Regions from separate parts of the Homo sapiens genome. Here region 1 is linked to region 2. The links are contacts of gene promoters, found by promoter capture Hi-C in blood cells and fetal thymus (Javierre and others, 2016). All regions are on one chromosome and are shown on one strand. Each heading gives the region's core, a stretch centred on a gene start or on the middle of the fragment in contact. The rest is flanking DNA. Distances are from core to core; before and after follow the strand shown.

Evidence for each region. The method cuts DNA at HindIII sites, captures the fragments that hold promoters and counts their contacts. A CHiCAGO score of 5 or more calls a contact.
Region 1: the fragment with the promoter of OR2AG2 here is called in contact with the fragment with the promoter of DNHD1 in region 2 in 4 of 17 cell types (non-activated CD4 T cells, total CD8 T cells, naive CD8 T cells and 1 more); the score reaches 7.8 in non-activated CD4 T cells.

Annotation. Positions count from the first base shown.
Region 1 is chr11:6,770,529-6,773,391 of GRCh38, reverse strand. It overlaps OR2AG2 (olfactory receptor family 2 subfamily AG member 2), which reads left to right and starts at 1,416. Exons shown (of 2, transcript NM_001004490.2): 1 at 1,416-1,770. The HindIII fragment of the contact is 9,473 bases long and covers 1-2,863 here.
Region 2 is chr11:6,495,816-6,498,680 of GRCh38, reverse strand. It overlaps DNHD1 (dynein heavy chain domain 1), which reads right to left and starts at 1,401. Exons shown (of 43, transcript NM_144666.3): 1 at 1,350-1,401; 2 at 1,014-1,096; 3 at 1-910. The coding sequence starts at 465. The HindIII fragment of the contact is 5,087 bases long and covers 1-2,865 here.

The DNA of each region.
Region 1 (2,863 bases), core at 167-2,666, 270 kb before region 2:
TTAGCAGTCCAGCTCTCTGCCTCCTTTCACTATAACTATTAACGCAAATTTCATGTCCATCATTTTCTTTCTTCATTTATATGTAGTTTTATTGAATGTACACATATTTATAGGAAGTTTATTTTCACTTAAGTTCTTAACACTGCAAAAGAAGTACCACGATATATAATCCTAAGGTGTCTCTTGCTTCCCTTAATATTAGTTTCCTAAGTTGCTTTTTTTGTTGTATGCTCTGGTTCCTTTGTTTAGATTCCTACATAGTAACCCTTTGGTGCATATCTATCTATTCCACTGTTGATGGGCATAAAGGTCGTTTCTAATTTTTATTGTACTGTGAATAATGCTGCTCTTATAATTTACATGTTTAAAACCGTCTTTTCAGTACATTCCTTTTATAATTAAAAAATAAAAAGATTTTTATATTAGTTCTTCTGTTGCACTTCTGAAATAATTTTGAGTATATATTTTATATAAACAGAAAGTGGAAACTTATTTTTATTTTTTTTAAGTTCAAAGAGAAAAGATATGATAACTCCGGAAGAAATTTTCAGCATTTCCTGGTGAAATGGCTGATTAAAGAGATACTAAAGAATGAGGAAGATTAAGCACAGAATTGGGTGAGAGATGGGAAAGCCTGAACTAAAAGCAGAAGTGAGTGCAAGCAGGTGCTGTGTCATCATCCCAAAGCTCTGAGCAGCTCAGCTGACTGATCACAGAATATGTAGGCCCATGAACAAATGAACACACACAAGAGGGAGTAGAAAGGAGAAACAAAGAACTGAAAAATAAATTAGTGCTGGATCCTCATTAAAGCTCAGTGAAGGAAGACCTGATATTAACAGAAGCATAGTTAACTCCCTCTAGTTGGTAATAGCCCAGGCTAGTGGCACAAAGAGGGATATGTGAGTGGCAGCATCTATAGAACCCATGAGACAGACTTTATATTTTGGACAGAGGGCTGGACAGGGAGGTGTTGCTTTTCAGATTGGTTACTGACACTATCTATTTTGTCAGAAACAGCCTCTGTCTGGTTTTCCGGTCAGTGATTTCTAGGTTAAAATTATAGTTTTGGTTTTGTAAGGCAGGAGAAAGATCTTAGACTCCAATGAGTGGTGAGACACAGCAAGCCCATGGCGGGCAGAACAAGGCCTCAAGGTTCAGAGCTCATTTGGTGGTAAAGTTTGAAGAAATGGCAGGCCAGGAGACATGCCCAAGGGGATTTATTAAAATCCCATTTCCTGGAGCAATATTTTCAGGGGAGGTCATGTCAGCTGAGAGGGTGAGACTATGAACCCTCCCCCAGGACAGGCCTCACTGTTGGCGCAGAGACAGTAAGGCTGGGCATTGGTGGGTCTCTTTTAAGCAGCTCTTCTTATACCTCTTTTCTCACATTCCTGCTGTGCTCCTCTTTTATCATGAAACACAGCATGAGGGGAATATATGAAATCTGAGGACCTGGACTTAAGAACTCAGCTAGAACCATTCCAAAGCAGTAAGGACTTTCTCGCAAGGACAGTGAATGAGAGAACTTTGGAAGAGATTCAGCTCCTCACTTCTGCAGGATCCTGCCCTAGGTTCTCAGCTGCCTGTCTGCATCTATCTCTACTTCCAGAGAGGACTTGCAGTGCCAGTGACTGGAGGAGCCTTTGATCTCTGATCCTAGAGACAGCCATACACACACCTACATTCATCCTGGCCAGAAGAAGCAACTTTTCTTTCTTTGGCTTCTTGAACCTCTTTACCTGGAAGCTATGCCCCTTCCCATATGAGGTAAGGGCTCTGTCTCCGTTTCAAGGCAATATGGGAAGTCTGGAAGTCCTGAGAAACAGGGTCAAGACCTTACACTGCTCTCCTTCTCAGATTCTCTAGTTCCTCAGGCTTTATGATTCACTCACTCCCATCTATATCTTATCAACCTTGTACATGTACCCATCTTGCACATGTAGGAACAACCAAAATAATTCTATGCCATTGGCCAGCCGTGAGTTCCTAGAATTCCTGATGATGGCCTCCTGGTAAAAGTCTCAGTACTTACCTTTGTTACATCTAGATTTTCCTGGCCTCCAGTAGTTTGATGTGAGTCCCCAAATGAATAGTACCTCAAAGGAGGACTATCTAAAATATGCTGAAGTGCCTTTCCCCTGCAGGACTGCTTGGCGCTAAGTCCAGTGCCACACAAAAAGCCAAATGAAGTAAATACAAAAAATAAATATACTGAGCAGAGATGAAAAAGAAAAACTTATAAAATATACTTCCAAAAATTTAGCTCTACCTTGTTAATTGACTGACCATTTTCCATAAACTATAGCAATGCCTCTTAATATCAGCCTCTGCTGACTTCTCTTGGTTTGAAATACCCGCAACCACCAGCAGTTTTCCAGAATGAAGCTCTTCCTCTGTAGGCCCAGTGTGTGTTCTCTGGCCTTTCCCTTTAGATGACCCCAGAGAGAACTCAGTAAATGGAAAGAAGGGAAAACAATAGTCCCGTATCAGAGGGAGGAGGTAGGTATGTAGGATCCTGAGTCCTGGTTACACCACCTTACCCAAGCCCTGATTTTTCTTCTCTTTGAAATCCTGTCCAAACATCTGGTGCAGGAAGCTAGAAGAATGTGCCCAGCTAATTATGTTCCTCCTTTTATTTACCTGTCCATTCATCTTTTTATTCAAGAAAAATGAAGGCATTTCAAATCTAATATTTAGCAGAAATAGTGCTTAGAATTGACTTTGGACTTGTGTTTTTGTTGTCAACAGACAAATAAGGTTTTCCGGTCAGTGGGTCAGTGGTTCCTAGGTTAAAATTATAGTTTTGATTTTGTAAGGCAGGAGAAAATTCTTAGACTACATTGCGTGGTGAAACACAGTT
Region 2 (2,865 bases), core at 152-2,651:
CCTCCGCTTCTGGGGACAGCAGTCAGCATGGGAAGCACTGTCTAACAAAGAGCTGTCTGGAGGAAAGGCCTGGACAATGGCACCTAGCAGGTCCAGATGGAGGTGGGTTTGGACCCAGGGTGCCCAGCAGTACAGCTGCTCCAGGAAGGGCAGCAAATCAAGGTGGCCAACTAGCAACTCACGATATGGAGGCAGTAGACCCAGTACTGCATGAAGATAGCGCCAAGCTGCAGGGCTACTGTCCTGCAACACAGCTGAGAACAGAGTTCGGAGCTCAGCTAGCAGGAGTTCCAGCACTGTGGGCTGCTCTGACTCAGTCACTGGCTTCACGAACTGCCTCTGTTTCTGCTGGCAGGCCAAGGGCTGTTCTTTGCTGTCCAAGACACATATGGAGTGCCAAGACTTAAGGGAATCAGATGATGTCTCATCAGAAGACAAACCTACCCTCCTCTCCTCCGGGACCATGAGGAGCTGGGCATTCAACTGCTGTCGAAGTGACCTTGCCCATAGCTCAGGCTCCAACTGCCAGTTCCAGGATGCCAGATGCGGGGCCTCACCTGCATGGGCCAGCCCAGCAGAGGGGCCAGAGAAGGGACCTCAGGCTCTGGGCAGGGGATGGTCAGAGTCAATGGGGTTAGGAGGAAGAAAGGACCTGGGACAGGGAAATAGATGGAGCTACAGAGCAGAGCCAGACCAGCAGAGAGCCTTTCCTGAGACCCTCAGGCCCTCCCTACTGCTTCCCCAAAGACTCTGGTAAGGAGCAGGCCTAAGACAGACGTGAGAGCCCTCCTTGCAGAAGAGTTCCTTCTTACCTCCCAGTACCCTGTCCCCCTCACCTGGCCTAGGGGGGTTAGGAGGCAAGGCAAGGGAAGAGAGCCCGATCTGCTGATGAGGTTTCATTGAAGAGTGCCTGCTGGAGCAGTGAATGAACTTAGACTTGAGTTCCAGTCTGAGGCTCACCCTAATCATAGCCACCCATACACGGAGAGACTCGCACACAGACGTGCAATCACCTGAAGAGGCAAACTGACACACCGACAGAGCTCACTCTGAACCTCGGTCACAGCAAGGAATCTGCACTCGAGCTGGCGATCGCCTGAAAAACGGGTTAACAGGTCGTCACTCGAAGGCAGCAGAGCCCCAGTCCCATGACGTCTTCGCCCACAGCCTAAGGAGGTCGTGAAGACAGAAAGCCGAGGAGCAGGCACAGCAAATGATGGTCAGGATGCAGGTAGGGGAAGACGTTAACAGGCAAAGGAGGGGGCTGGGAGAGCGGGGAAGAGGAGGCGGACTCTGTGGGAGGGGGTCCTAGGGAACAAAGAGAAATGGATCCGGAGCCGAGGACTCACCCGCAGCTCCACCCGCACCCAGCTGTTAGAACCGTTACAAGATTCCAGAAGGACCGAGTCTTTGCCAGGAGCATCCGGGGGAGCCAGAAAGAGGAGGGGCCAGGGTCCGATATGGGCGGGGCCGAGAGGGCAGAGCCCAAGCCTGGAGGGGCAGAACTAGGTTCAACCTGTGGGCTAAGGCTTGCCTGGGACAGGGACCTGTAGAGGACCAGGCGGGGTCTGAACTGCACGTGCAGTACGGTTGACTCGGGAGACTAGCAATCCAGAGGGTGTCGTAAGCAGGTGTTTATATCCATTCGCTGAGTATCTAAACTAGTGCCAGGTCTTTGGTATGTCTTTGGTACTCCCCCATCCCCACCCCCAACGTATCCATCTACCCTATCCCACCTCCCCAAAAGAAGCCCGAATAAAACAAAATCCTTGATCTCAAGGAGCTCAACATCTATTTGGCACGGGGGGAGGGGGATTTTTTGGGGAAGGGCTTATGGAGGGGCTAATTTTTAAAAATTAAGTTGAATGAGGCCGGGCGCGGTGGCTCATGCCTGTAATCCCAGCATTTTGAGAGGCCGAGGCGGGTGGATCACGAGGTCAGGAGATCGAGACCATCCTGGCTAACACGGTGAAACCCTGTCTCTACTAAAAATACAAAAAAATTAGCCGAGCGTGGCGGTGGGCGCCTGTAGTCCCAGCTACTGGGGAGGCTGAGGCAGGAGAATGGCGTGAACCCAGGAGGCGGAGCTTGCAGTGAGCAGAGATCGCGCCACTGCACTCCAGCCTGGGCGACAGAGGGAGACTCTATCTCAAAAAAAAAAAAAAAAAAAAAAAAGTTGATGATTAAAATAAAAAAAGAAATTCAGCCCACCTCTCCTCTGAAATCAGATTAGTATATCCAACTGCCTACTTAATGTCTCCACCTGGAGAGCTTATAGGTATCTCAAACTTAAAATGTCCAAAAGCAGGCTCCTAACCACCCTTTCCCCACCAAAGAAATGCTGCTCCTTTCACTGTCTTTCCCACCTCAGTCAATGGCAAATCCATTCTTTCTGGTTTCTCACACCAAAACCTTGGAGTCAGCTTTGAGACCTCTTCCAAACCCCTTCTTTCTCTTTCCCTCTTCTTTTTCCCTTTCTCTTTCTCTCTCTCCCCCTCCCTCCATAAGTAATCCTTCAGGAAATTCTGCTGGTTGTGCCTTCAGAATATATCCAGAATCCAACTATTTCCCACCATCTTAAGTACTACAACCTTGGTCTAAGCTGCTATCATTTCTCACCTGGGTTTTTCCACAGCCTTTGAACTGTTCTCCTTGCCTCAGATCCTTCTCATGCTTCTCACCATTGCCCCTACAATCCATTCTTTTTAGAGCAGCCAGTGATCCTTTTCAAATATAGGCAGATCCTATAACTCCTCTGCTCATAGCTCACTAATGCCCCCTCATCTAATTCCTTCAGCTGAAGGCCAAAGTCCTATCATGGCCTACAAATTGCTGATAACTGCCTGCTACCTCTGTAGGCTTCTC